2 separate regions of the Homo sapiens genome follow, and region 1 is linked to region 2. The links are contacts of gene promoters, found by promoter capture Hi-C in human tissues and cell types (Jung and others, 2019). All regions are on one chromosome and are shown on one strand. Each heading gives the region's core, a stretch centred on a gene start or on the middle of the fragment in contact. The rest is flanking DNA. Distances are from core to core; before and after follow the strand shown.

Region 1 (6,374 bases), core at 3,024-5,523, 300 kb before region 2:
CAGGTGTGCCTAGCACCTCACATCAACTATCTTACTTGGGGAGGTGCCTAAGATTAGACTTTGGGCTAAGAGAGTGGGGAAGTGAACAAATCACCACGGAACTCCTGTGCATGAGGCACTGTATCAAGGCTAGGGCAAAGAACCAGTCACATAAAGTTCTGCTCTCTTGGGGACTTCATAGAGGGAGAGGCAGACAGTTGAAGGAAAAAAGTATCTTTTTAAAAAAGTGGGCCAGGCATGGTGGCTCACACCTGTAATCCTAGCACGTGGGGAGGCTGAGGCAGGCAGATCACTTAGGCTAGGAATTCAAGACCAGCCTGGCCAACATGGTGAAACCCTGTCTCTACTAAAAATACAAAAATTAGCTGGGCATGGTGTTGTGCACCTATAATTCCAGCTACTCAGGAGGCTGAGGCAGGAGAATCGCTTGAGCCTGGGAGGCAGAGGTTGCTGTGAGCCGAGACCGCACCACTGCACTCCAGCCTGGGCGACAGAGCGAGACTCCATCTCAAAAAATTAAAAATTAAAAAAAGAAAAGTGAAGAAAATTTCAGAAGGCAATAAGTGCTATATAAAAAAATCAGGGTAGTGGGATGGAAAGGAGGCACGTTTAGATAGACTGGCCAGGAAGGCTTCTTGGAAGAGTAACATTTGAGCTGGGATCCAAATGATGAGAAGGAACCAGTAAGGCAAAGACCTGGGACAGTCTGAGGAAGTGGCTGTGTTTTCCAGTGTCTTTTCTTCATGCAGGCTGGATCTCAGCAAGTGGCTCACTTAGTGGGGCTACTCTGCGTGGGGCTTGGACTCTCCCCCAGGTTGGCTCAGCTCCTCACCACCATCCCACTGCCTGTTGTTGGTGAGTGGATGTATCAACAGGGCTGGTATTGAACTGCTACTCCCCAGTGTGGCCTGATCAGTTCTTTAGGATGGCACCCTTTCCTTCTAAATAGCTTTCCTGGATGGATGGGTGGATGGATGGATGGATGGATGGATATGAGCATGTGTCAGCCTCAATTTCTCAGCCCAACATTTTGGTCTTCTCTTGATTGGGCTTCTGGGCTTCCTGAAGAATCAGAAATCAGCCTCAGGCTGGGCGTGGTGGCCCACACCTGTAATCCCAGCACTTTGGGAGGCCCAGACAGGCAGATCACTTGAGGTCAGGAGTTCGAGATCAGCCTGGCCAACATGATGAAACCCTGTCTCTACTAAAAGTGCAAAAATTAGCTGGGCGTGGTGGCACATGCCTGTAATCCCAGCTACTCGGGAGGCTGAGGCAGGAGAAATCGCTTGAATCCGGGAGTAGGAAGCGGAGGTTGCAGTGAGCCGAGATTGCACCACTGCACTCCAGGCTGGGCGTTACAGTGAGACTTGCTCTCAAAAAAAAACCAAAAAAACAAAAAAACAAAAAAAACAAAAATCATTCTCTTGGGTTTTATTTGTTTCCCATTACAACCTGCTTGCCCTGCAATACTCCATGCTATGTGAGCCCCCTTGACTCCTCCTGACCCCCTTGATTTCTTCTGTATGAGACAGGTGGGGTGCTGGGGGTGACCCAGGCTGTGGTTTTGTCTGCTGGATTCTCCAGCTTCTACCTGGCTGACATAGACTCTGGGCGAAATATCTTCATTGTGGGCTTCTCCATCTTCATGGCCTTGCTGCTGCCAAGATGGTTTCGGGAAGCCCCAGTCCTGTTCAGCACAGGTAGGTGGAAGGGAAGAGGCGTTGCTCAGTAGCAGGAAAGCAAGTTGAGGCTTCAGGCTGCCCGGACTCCTGGCCCCACAGCCTTCTCTGGGCTTTGGTGTAAATACTTCATCCATTTGTTTAACAGATATTTATTGAGCACTATGCTAGCCATTTGGAATACAAAGATGCCTTCCGTTATTACAGCGTAGTACAAGAGATGAGATGTGTAGGAAAATAACAGGAAAGGTTCAGATAAAGAGCTACAGTGCTCAGTGGCAAGAGAGATAGCTTCTGTTTGAGGTGATCCAGTAACAGAGCTGGTCTTGAAGGATGGTAAGTTTTAAACATCTTTGGTGAGAAGAAGGTCATTCCTGATGGAGGAACCATCATTTATGCAAAGACACAGAAGTGGGAAGTCTTAGGATATGTCCTGAGAGCAGTAAATTGCTTAATTTGTCTCACCCAGTTCTCAACTGGGTGATTTTGCCCCCATGGGGACATTTGGCAATGTCTGGAGACATTTTTGGCTGTTACAAATGGAGGAAGAGGGAGTTGTTACTAGGGTTTAGTGGATAGAAAGATGCTGCTAAACATCCTACACTGTACAGGACATCCCCCCTGCACCACCACCCCCAACAAAGAATTATCTGGTCCAAGATGTCAGTAGGACTGAGGTTGAAAAACCCAGGATAGAGCATAGAGGGTAAAAAATGGGAGATGAGGTTGGGACTTAAATATTACGCTTTCTAGAGAAAGGGAACCTGGAATAGTCAAAGCATATATGGAGGGTGTGTGGATGATCAGAACACAGGGTGTTGAGCAGGAATCCTGTGGGAAAGGCCTGGATTTGGAAAGTGGAGAGTAGAAAGACAAAGGGTGAGAGGGATGAAATGACAATTCAGAAAGATCTGTCCTTAGTCCAAGGCTTAGGTTTAGGTCTGGGAGGGTAAGACTCCTGGGCTTGGATATAGGATCAGAGTTCCCTTCCTGCCTGGCCCCAACTCTTCATAGGCTGGAGCCCCTTGGATGTATTACTGCACTCACTGCTGACACAGCCCATCTTCCTGGCTGGACTCTCAGGCTTCCTACTAGAGAACACGATTCCTGGTAAGTTGAGGCTAGGCCCTAGCAGACTGGGGAGTGGCCAGGAAGCCATCCCTCCCTGGGATGGGCAATAGCCTGACAAACCTCTCTTTTGCAGGCACACAGCTTGAGCGAGGCCTAGGTCAAGGGCTACCATCTCCTTTCACTGCCCAAGAGGCTCGAATGCCTCAGAAGCCCAGGGAGAAGGCTGCTCAAGTGTACAGACTTCCTTTCCCCATCCAAAACCTCTGTCCCTGCATCCCCCAGCCTCTCCACTGCCTCTGCCCACTGCCTGAAGACCCTGGGGATGAGGAAGGAGGCTCCTCTGAGCCAGAAGAGATGGCAGACTTGCTGCCTGGCTCAGGGGAGCCATGCCCTGAATCTAGCAGAGAAGGGTTTAGGTCCCAGAAATGACCAGAACGCCTACTTCTGCCCTGGTTAATTTAGCCCTAACTCTCATCTGCTGGAGAGTCAGCTCCCAAACTGTTCTTTCTTGTAGGCAGAGGATATGTGTGTGTGTATTACATGGGACTGTCTAGAGGTTCCATTTCCCAATAGGGTGGGTTGCCTTTCCTTGTCTTAATTAGGCCTAACTGTTCCAGAGCAGAGGCCATGATTTAGTGGACCATGAATGATTGAGATTTTGCCTGTGTACTATCAATGCCACTTGAACCCCAGCATTCACTTTAATACTTACTGAGCATCTCCCATGTGCAAGGTCCTGGAACTACAGGGATAAGACAGGGTCCATGCCGTCTCAAGGCATTTACGGTTTAAAAAGACCTTTGTAATTACTAACGAAAATGCAAAGCAGAAAGCAGTCTGTAATAAAGATTAAAATAATGCCGTGGGAGCAAAGAGGAAGGGATAATGAATTCTGATTGGGGACAGTGGGAAAGGCTTTATGCAAGAAGCAATGAGGATGGCCTTGACAAATGAGGATTTTTGGTTTTGGAAAATGGATGCAGAGAAGTTTTCAGGTTCGGGGTCCAGCTTGAGCAAAGCCATGGGTTGTACAAAGTCCAAGATAGGTGAGGGGTTTCAAATTTCTCAGTAGTGAGGGAGTATAAGTACGGGGATGATGGAGAAATGAAGCAGGAGAGGTAAAGGATGAGGTCGGACTATGGGACTTATGCCTGGGAGACTCCTTCCTTCAACAACTCTAGTGCTGGTGGAGGACCTGAGAGATCATCTACAGAAGTTCAATCCCTTATTTTGTTAAAAAGAGACCGGATAGGTAGGGGAGGGAAGAGAAGTGACTCAAGTTTGACAAATCCAAACCTGGGCTCCCCTCTCCTGCGCCTCGCCCGCTATTCTTTCCACTCGGCCAGCGTGACTCCAAGACGCGCCACTACCCTTCTACTAGCCGGCTGCCCGGCCTCTCCTCCACTTACCCTGGCCACTGGGGCGCTCCTCTCATCAGTGTCCCAGGCCCAGAAGCCCCGCCCACGCCAGGCATAGGCCCCGCCCCTGTATCCCAAGACCCTGCCTCCTCTTGCGGTGGGGGGAAAGCGGCCTCTTACTCTAGGCCTTTCGGTTTGCGCGAGCGGGCAGGAAAGCGTGCGTGCGGCTAAGAGAGTGGGCGCTCTCGCGGCCGCTGACGGTAGGTGGAATCGCGTTCGAGTCCGGGCAGGAGCAAGCCAGCGAGGGGCTGCTCAGACGCTGCGGGTTGGCCCTGGCGCTGGCCTTTTCTCCCTGGAGGGAGCGCGCGCTGCCGGGGTCCAGGGCAGGCCTCCGGGGGAGGGGTGGGCGGGGCCGCGCGTGCGCAGTCCGCTGGCTGCTGCCCGGCGTGGATGGTAGGGCTCGAGTGAAGGTACTCGTTGGTCGCCTGTTTGGTGCGACGAAGCCGCTGGTGGCCGGCTTTGTTGCCCCTTGAAGCCGCGCCCCAGTGCAGCCAGTGCTGTAGAAATGGGAAGGCGGACAGCGAAGGCTGTTATAGCTGGGGCGGGTGGAAGCGGGACGCCTGGCGGCTCCTGGGGTGGGGCTATGGTTGTGGTGGGACCTAGGGTTCGCGCTGTCCCAGGGGGACCGGGCGGGGCCCAGCCGGGATGCTCTCTGGGCCTCTACTGCCCTCTGCAGGGCGTCGGAGGAACTGCCCAGAGGGGTCACTGCTGAGGAGCGGACTCGGTGCAGATAAAGGTTCTCAAGGGACCCCTCCGCCGGGATGCCGCTCAGCGCCCCTCCACTCAAGAGAAATAAACCCGTGAATCTCGTTAATGTGAATGTTAGAGGCAGCCTTGAAGGAAAAAAGAAAAGGATGAAGTGTAGAAGCTTCGGACGCAGAACGGGACGCGTGTGGTGGGAGCAGGCAGCCGGGGTCTGGTGCCCAATGTGTCAGGCCTTTTTATAGGGCCCGTTACTCCTGGCCACATTTTAAACTCCTCCCCCTTTACCCAACAGACAAACAAAACCCATCAATTTGAGGGTTCTGAGCTTCCGGGCTTTCCGAAGGAATGGGCTAGAATAGTAAACCCAATTTTGGCAACTGTTAAGAGTACACTGGGGAGTGCCTATAAGGGAGATGAAAGTGGCGACTTTATTCGCGTTTGTGACCTTTGGCATTGTGGAGCTCTTGTCCGGCTAGGACTAGCTTAATCATCCCATGACCACTTCTGTCCCCATAAGAGCAGCATGTGGGAAATGTGACGGAAACACCATCCTCCAAACACAAGGCTTTGAGGATGCCATAAAGAAAGATCACCACGTATATGTATATATATGCATATATATATATGCATATATATATGCATATATATATGCATATATATATGCATATATATATATGCATATATATATGCATATATATATAAAGTTATGTCACAAGTCACAAGGGCACACTTCAAAAGCTAGGGGAAATGACTGTGTTAATCAGACTTAATAAGGAATTTCATTATTTACATTCTAAATTTTTCCTTCCTGGTACTTCTGTTCATTTTATATTTGTAGACTGGAATAATGAAGGAAATTGACATATTTTTTTCTCCCCCACAGGAAAAACAATCACATTCTCTGTCAAGCAGCCGTAGTTCTGATTGTCTACTAGGTTAAGCCTACTACTTTAGCTGCTGAGATAGAAAAGTTGTTTTGCAGGGGTTCCAGGCTGGGCATGTTGTCATTGGTGGCAGTGCACTGGAGTGGGAATGTGGAGGATGAGTTAAGTGGAAGTTAATTCAGTCTTTACCTCTGTGATGTGCTCTGCCTTGTATTCATGATTTCCTAGTCATTCTGGTTTTTGTTGAAATGAAATTTAGGTCTTTTCTGTTGCTCCTGGACACAGGTTCTTAGCTCTTTTTTGTGTCATCGATCCCTGAGAGTTTGATGATAGCTGTAGACCTCTTCCCCCTCCCCATGCATATATGCGTGTACACATAACATTTTCATATAATTCTAGAGGATTCACATGCATTGACTCTAGATTAAGAACCTGTTTTAGGGATTTTTAAAAAAATCCTGAGAGCTTCCTAAACTTTGTTTTTAGATAATGATCAAATACTTCGAATTTCCTGGCCCTGACACTATGACTTATGATGTTTTATAAGACAAGAACTATTCCTTCTCTTCTAGTTCTGGGAAAGGATAGGAGTGACATATTTATTAGGAATGTGATAA
Region 2 (6,807 bases), core at 1,120-3,619:
GGCCTCTGTGTTCTCCCACACCTGCCCGTGTCACCTCCTCCCCCACTCCCTTCTTCCCAGCTTCAGGGTCAGTCTCTCAGGGACCAGGCCACTCTCCTTTGGCTTGGCTGCCACCCAGCAGTCCTTCCTGAACAAAGGAAGCCCCACAGATACAGAGCCCAGAAAGGTGAATCAGCCAGTCCAATGACACTCTGCAAGCCCATCTCCAGCACCAACACACTCCTAGGCCTCAGGGCTCCTAAAGACAAGGTATCTGCCTTCCAGGAGCAGGGAAGAGAGACCTAAAGGACTGTTGTCAGCCAAATGCAGTAACCAGCATAGTTGCCCAATGTATGTGATACAGTGGGAGCGCAGAGAAGGCAATGGAAGGAGGACAAGGGGGCAGCTTCAGGGAGGAAATGGTATTTTAACCGTAAGGATAAGAATGATTTAGACAGAGGGGGAGGGAGGGGAAGGAAGACAATGGCCATCAGGGAGGGACCCCATCCCCACACCTTGAAAAAGGGCAAAGTTAGGCGTTTATGGGGAAAAGAGATTCCTTTACAACATTTTCCTTGGAACTCTGGATTTTAAATGTAAATGAATCCCCTTTTTCACTCCTGGGGACCCTGGCCAGGAGAAGCTGGGTTGTGAGGGGGGCGCTGTACATACTGAGTACCTCCTAAGGTCCTATTATTCTACACGTCCTCCCACCTAACCTTCCCAGCAAGCCTGCCAGGTAGGGAGACTGTTATCCTATTTCCAGTTAAGACTGAGAGGTAGGGAAAGGAAGTGACTAGCCCAAGATCACAAACATAATGTTTAGATCTTAGATCTATCTGCTTCAAAGCTGCCACTGCATTATACTAAGCCGGATCAAAGGGCATATGTTCCCTAGATAGGACCTGGGTCGTCCTCGGTTCGCCCTTTCCGTGACACTAGCGTCGGACGGCTCTCCGCATCACGGAGTAGGGATTGCTGCCCGCCACTCCCTGTGTGGGCATCCTACTCCCTATCTCTCCAGAGCACGGGGATCTGCCTCTCTTCCAAATCTGGGGGGCGAGGGAGGAGCGGAGGGTCGGCATCCAGCCAATCACATGGCAATATGCAAATAGACACGACCCTGCCTTCTTAGGATTGGCTAACCCGTCAGCGTTATTGTCCAAGTCTCTCCTCTCTAAACACTGAGCTATTCCGGGCGAGGGTTTGCGGCTCTGGAGACCTAGGGGGAAAAAAGTCCTTTGGATCTGGATCTCTGAGCCGTCCCGGTCGGGCACCCTCCTTCCCCGCCCCGGCCCCACCCCCACCCCCAAGGCTCGAAGCTCCCGCAACCTTCGCTGCCTAGGTGTCCCTTCTAGCTAGGGCCAAGCCTGGGAAGACGCCCCCTTCCCTTGGCTGGCCAGGCCCCTCTCCCTTCCCGCAGGACCCCTCCCGGTCCCGTATCTCCCGGGCTGCACATATTTTTTCATTCATGACCCCCAGGTCTGGAAGGGCCGGGCGCCTGGGTCCGGTTCCTTCCGCTCCTCCTTTTCCTTGCTTGGGGAGGACGAGGTAGAGAAAACCAGGGTCCTGACTCACTTTCCCCTTTATATTCCCTCTGTCGTCACTAAGGCCCACTCCTCAGGAGCCCAGAGAGAAGCCGGTGGGTTGGTAGGCAAAGCAGGGCGGGGAAGGGGCAGCTGTGTGGCCCTCTCTGCCTTGTGGCTTCCCACCTTGTTCCTGTCTTCTCCAAATCCAGCCCCATACCCTGAATCCAGGGCCCTCCTCACACATTCTTTTCCTCGGATATGTGTCTTCCCGAAAGATCTTTCCTACCCACTCGCCTGTTCCTTGGTGAGCTGGGTGAGCGCATAACTTGGCGGGGGGTGGGAGAGAACCCGGGAGGAGGAAACACAATAGAATGTTCCCGAGGGTTAGGAACGTCGAAGTGGAGTTCAGAAACGCCCCCGGCCGAGGCCAGAAAGCTGGGCTCGGAGAGCAGGTAGAGCCGGGAGGCTGCGGAACACCCCAGTCTGTCCTGGGTCCCGGGGTCCCCACCCTCCAGGGTCCAGAGCCGCGCCAGGACAGCCGGACTCACCACCACAGTCCGCCGACGTGCGCCGGGCACAGGAGCAGCAGCAGCAGCAGCCCGAGGCGGGAGGGTAAGGGCGGCAGCATCGTGACCGCCCTACGGCCGCCCGGGTGGGCAGGGGGCGAGGCTGCGGGGCGAACCGCGGCGCGCGAGGGCCCGGGCTTCAGTGCGAGCGCGGCGAGCGCAACGGCGGCGGCCGGGAGGCGAGGGATCCGGCGGCGGCGGGGGGGCCCATCCCGGGCGAGGAGGGCGCGGCGGAGGCGGAGAGCGGACGGGGCAGCCAGCGCCTGTGTCTCCTGCGGAGCTCGCTCGGGAGAAGAAATCAGAGCCGGGGGCGGAGGTGGGAGGGGAGCGGGGCCGAGGCGGGGGCGGGGGGCAGGGGGCCGGAGGGAGGTGGCAGTTGCGACAGTCAGGCAGCGGGACTCTCGGGAGCGAGCCGTGCGCCCCGGGGCGGCTGGCGCGGAGCGCAGCGGAGGGCGGGAGCGGGGTGCCGGGGCGGGGCCCCAGCGCGCTTCGGGCTGTGGGACCCGCCCGCTTCGCCCCCTCGCCTCGCCTCTCTCGGACTTGGAGCCCCCCGCCGCTCGCGGCCGCCTGGAGTCGGGGGCAAGGAAGGGCTGGGAAGAAGAGTAGAGAGGGGTGAGGGGGGAGAAAGAGGAGCTGAGGAATGGGGGACGGGCTGGAAGGGAGACGTTTGACAGGTTTGTTGACTGTAAAGAGAGAAAACTTCCCAGGAATGAGGGAGTTTGGGGCGGGGGGCGGTGCGGAGGGAGATGCTGGCGCGGAGGCAAGAGAGGAAGTTGGCCTGGGGCGCGGGGTGCTTCGGCGAGGGTTGTCAAACTGGACCGCCCGACAGGCGGATGCTGGAGGGGTCATCTCTTTCCGTGTCCCTGTTCGATGCCTCATGCCCCTTCGTCAGCCTCTCCTTGAAGAAGGGAGGAAGCCCTGGGCCTCCGCTCTCGCTCCCCCAGCCATCCCACCTCTCAAGCCCGCGTTCTAGGGCGGGGAGGTGGGGGAAATGAGAGGGCAAGAGTAGCCGCTCCAGGGCGTGCGCGCAAGCGCTGGCACTTGTAAGCGAGCGGGAGAATGGAGGTCGCAGACTTTCAAGAGATCGAGGGGTCAGAATTCGCTTTAGCCCGGCCTCGCGTGTCCAAGAGTCCCTGCCTCGAGTTCCTCCCCCAACCTGGCCCGGGTAGAAGGGGTGGGAGAGCCAGCTGCAGGTGAGATGGCGTTTATCAGATTTTCTAATGCCACAAAAATGTCTTTGATGCCCCTGGCCCCCTCCCCACGAGGGGGAGATCAAAGGCTCCGTGGGGAAGAGGGACAGCTCCATTCATCATGCCATTCGGCTGGCAGTGGGCAGCAGCCCCTGCCCCTCCCGTCCCCGACGTGCCCCGGGGTGCCAAGGGACAGGTGGTGTGGGACATTCTCCCTGCCATACCATCAAGAGCAACCATCAACCTTTAAAGCTGTCCTGGAGTGGGGAGGACAGATCGAGTCCCTATGGCAGAAACGTCAGGCGCCCAGAAGAAAGCTCCTGGTTGTTGGTAGAGAGGGGGACCTGAATGTGGGGACTGAGGTCGCTTCCAAGAGAGTGATGACTGAGGTCACTTCCAAACAACCTTGGTGAGCAGAGAGAGAAGACAAGATCCTGAGTCACCCAGAGAGGGGGGACAAGTAGATCAAGATGAGGCCAAGGGGCCAAGGGATGTGACCCCAGGGGAGGAGGCTGATGGGGGAAGGAATGAGCAGACAGAGGTGAGAGAACTGGAGAAGTGTGGACTTGCCGGCAAGCAAGCTCCATGTCAGGGCCCTGGTGTCCAGGCTGCATCAGCTCAATCCCTTGCACTGGATACAGAGAGTTCTGGTGAAAGGGCTAGGACACACTAAAGAAGGGGAAGGGGGCAGGGGGCAGTGGCAAGAGTCATAGAGAGAGGGTCTGGTCTAAGCACTGCCCTCTCCCATTTTAGCCTTTAACAGTATCCAAAGGCCACGCACAGCCCCTGCACCTAGTAACTTTGCACACAGTTGCTGTTTCTACGGGGCAATGCCAATCTGGACAGTTCCTAAAGGTCAATGCCAACTCTGGACACTACACATTCAAAGACATACCCAGTTTGGGTGCACACTCCAGCCATGTGGTACCAAATAGGCAGCTAGAGGGCTCTGGGGGTCCCTGGAGGCTACAGGTGGCCAGTGGCCAGCCTCCTGGGAGCCACTGTCTGGGTTCCGAACCCCCTGCCCAGCCCTGCTCCCACCCTGCTACTGTTATTGCAGATTATGAAATGCTCTCCCTATCCTGCATTCTTCTCCGAGGCAAGAATTTTAATGTATTTGTCTTTGTCATCAGGGGACCTGGGCTCTGAGACCGCCCTGCCTCTGCCTGAGGAGGGAGCGCCCCAAATCTAGTCCCTGCTGCCTCCAGACCCAGCCTCTCTCCATTACCACCCCTCCCCCATGCCCTAGCCCTGCCCCTCGCCTCCCCTTCCTAAGACACAGTCTCTCTGTGGGGTGGATAAAAATGATGTTATTGAAACAACAGAATTGGGAGCAGTGGCAGGGAGCAGGGATCAGCTCAGGAAACTGGGGCGTTTGCCAAGAAGCCTTCTCCCCCGCAGGCGGCCTTTCTGCCCCCACCCCCCACCTTTCCTGCAAACATACACAGCTGGCCCCACCCCTCCTGCAGCACTCACTCTAGCCAGATCTTGCAGAATCTTTTGCCATCTCTGGACTCCCCAAGCCCTTGTCCCTCCTGCACTCAGTCCCATTCCAGAATCAGTTGGCCCAGTAGTGCCTGCAGAGCATTATAGGGTTGGGGGGTCGGGGGGAGGTGGGCTGGAATCTGTGACAGGCAGGACTCCTGGAGTCCCAATTCCTAGGGCTTCTGCCCCAACAGCACCCTTTTGCTCACTCTCCTTTGCCCTCTCCGCATCCCCATCAAGGGGCTGGCTGGCATCTGGGCAGAGCCAGAGTGATGACTTCTGTTGTTTTGCCCCCAAACCTCCAAAGAGATGAATTCAGATGTTCCTGAGCCTTCAACCCACCACTATCACCTTAGAAGACTTACAAAGGAGCAGGAGCTGGAGAGGGGGTGGCAGGAGGTAACAGACCATGGTGCACAAAGATAGATCAAGATATGTGACATACATGCCCCCTCACACACACCAATCACTGGGCACAGGCCTCCAGATAACCCCACAGAAACCACAGGACATCTTCCCTCCCCCAGACGGTGCTGTGATTTTTTACCCACAGGTATGGACGGACACACAGATGGGCTGGCTCAGGCTGAAACACTTCACATACACACACACACACACACACACACACACACACACATCACCTCTGCAGAGATATGCATGCAGAAGAACATTCACAAGAGACTGGAGTGGGAAGACAGCAGCCCGGAAATGGGTGGCCTGAATGGGGAGGTGACAGTCTGACCCCCCTCCCTATCCTCTAGGCCCTGCCCACCCCACCTTCCTTCATCGCTCCGCCTTAAATCCTGGGAACCCACTCATACTATGTCTAGGCCCTGTGCGAAAGAGAGACAGGGAAGGAGAGACTTGAGGTTGAGGAGGAAGGAGGGGCAGAGTGGGGGCAGTGGAGTGGTGGGGGAGAGGCAGCTGGAAATAGATAACATCAGAATCGCTGCGGGCGAAAGCAAAGCCCTCTGTCTCTGGCGGATTCTCTCTCACTGTCTTTCTGTGCCTTTTTACATCTCTCCCATGTTCATAATTCGGTCTCTATTTGTGTCTGTCTCTAAATCACTTTCTCTGTCGTTTCTCGGAATGGCTAAGGCTGCAGGAGCCTAGGAATTTGGGCCTGTGACCCTTCCCCTCCCAAGAACCTCCCTCTTTCCCTCCCTACTTCCCTCCTTCTGTCCCCAGAACTCCTATCTGTCCTTCCCTCTCTCTGTCCCCAGGAACTCCTATTCCTTCAGGGAGGTGACATGCCTTGAGAATTCCTAAGAACCCTGGGTTTCTGGGTCCCTGGAGAACAGAGAGAGGAAAGGCCAGCCCCTTAGAGAGATGGAGAAAGATAGAAAAAGAAAAGAGAGCGAGGAGAGAGGCTCATTTTCCTCTTCCTTCTGCATCACAGACAGCTCTACTCCCACGCCCGCAGCCCACCTGAAGTCAGGAAAGTGTGCTTTTCCAGAGCAAGTTCCCAGCTTTAGTCAAGGCAGGGATAAGAGAATCCCCTACACCAGGCCCCAGCTTCCTGCAGAGCCCACCTGCCTCCCATCTTCCACCTCTTTCAAGCCTATCCATGCCCCCACCAGTCCGGGGAGCAAGAACCCAGGGGGAGCTTGAATGGGGCAGGAGAGCACGGGCTAGGGAAGGAGGGGCTGCTGCTCGCCCACCACAACTGGGCTGGGGGAAAGCCAGGGAACATTTGTTTCCACTTAGCTTAGCCCCATGGGCCCAAGTGGGAGTGGTTGGCCCCAGGAGCCTCTCCAGCCATCCTGGCCCAGGCTGGCTCCTGTGGTACTGACGTGGGATGGGCAAAGGGTCCTGGCCTGGTCTCAAGCGTTCTAGGGAAGAGCCTCTGCCCTCCTCTCGTCTCACTGCTCCATTCTGCTCCTGGGACACCACCTGTCCCTGCTGCTTCAGCTCTCACTTCTGCGGGAAACGGGGCTCCTAAATCCAGGTCTCTGGAGCCAGCCTCCCTATTGATGTCTTGTCTGCTGTCTCTCTCCCTGGGCAGCAGTCAGCAAATTTGTAATCGGACACTGATGTGCCAGGCTCCCAGCTGGGTAG

Evidence for each region. The method cuts DNA at HindIII sites, captures the fragments that hold promoters and counts their contacts. A contact is called where the count stands out against the background at its distance.
Region 1: the fragment with the promoter of NHEJ1 here is called in contact with the fragment with the promoter of WNT6 in region 2 in 1 of the 25 tissues and cell types used here (IMR-90 fibroblasts).

Annotation. Positions count from the first base shown.
Region 1 is chr2:219,158,714-219,165,087 of GRCh38, reverse strand. NHEJ1 (non-homologous end joining factor 1) reads left to right here and starts at 4,273. Exons shown (of 8, transcript NM_024782.3): 1 at 4,273-4,368. SLC23A3 (solute carrier family 23 member 3) reads left to right here. Exons shown (of 12, transcript NM_001144889.2): 9 at 750-855; 10 at 1,533-1,700; 11 at 2,694-2,789; 12 at 2,884-3,623. The coding sequence ends at 3,179. RefSeq lists a silencer at 4,489-4,608. The HindIII fragment of the contact is 15,467 bases long and covers 1-6,355 here.
Region 2 is chr2:218,855,367-218,862,173 of GRCh38, reverse strand. It overlaps WNT6 (Wnt family member 6), which reads right to left and starts at 2,369. Exons shown (of 4, transcript NM_006522.4): 1 at 2,057-2,369. The coding sequence starts at 2,136. The HindIII fragment of the contact is 31,874 bases long and covers 1-6,807 here.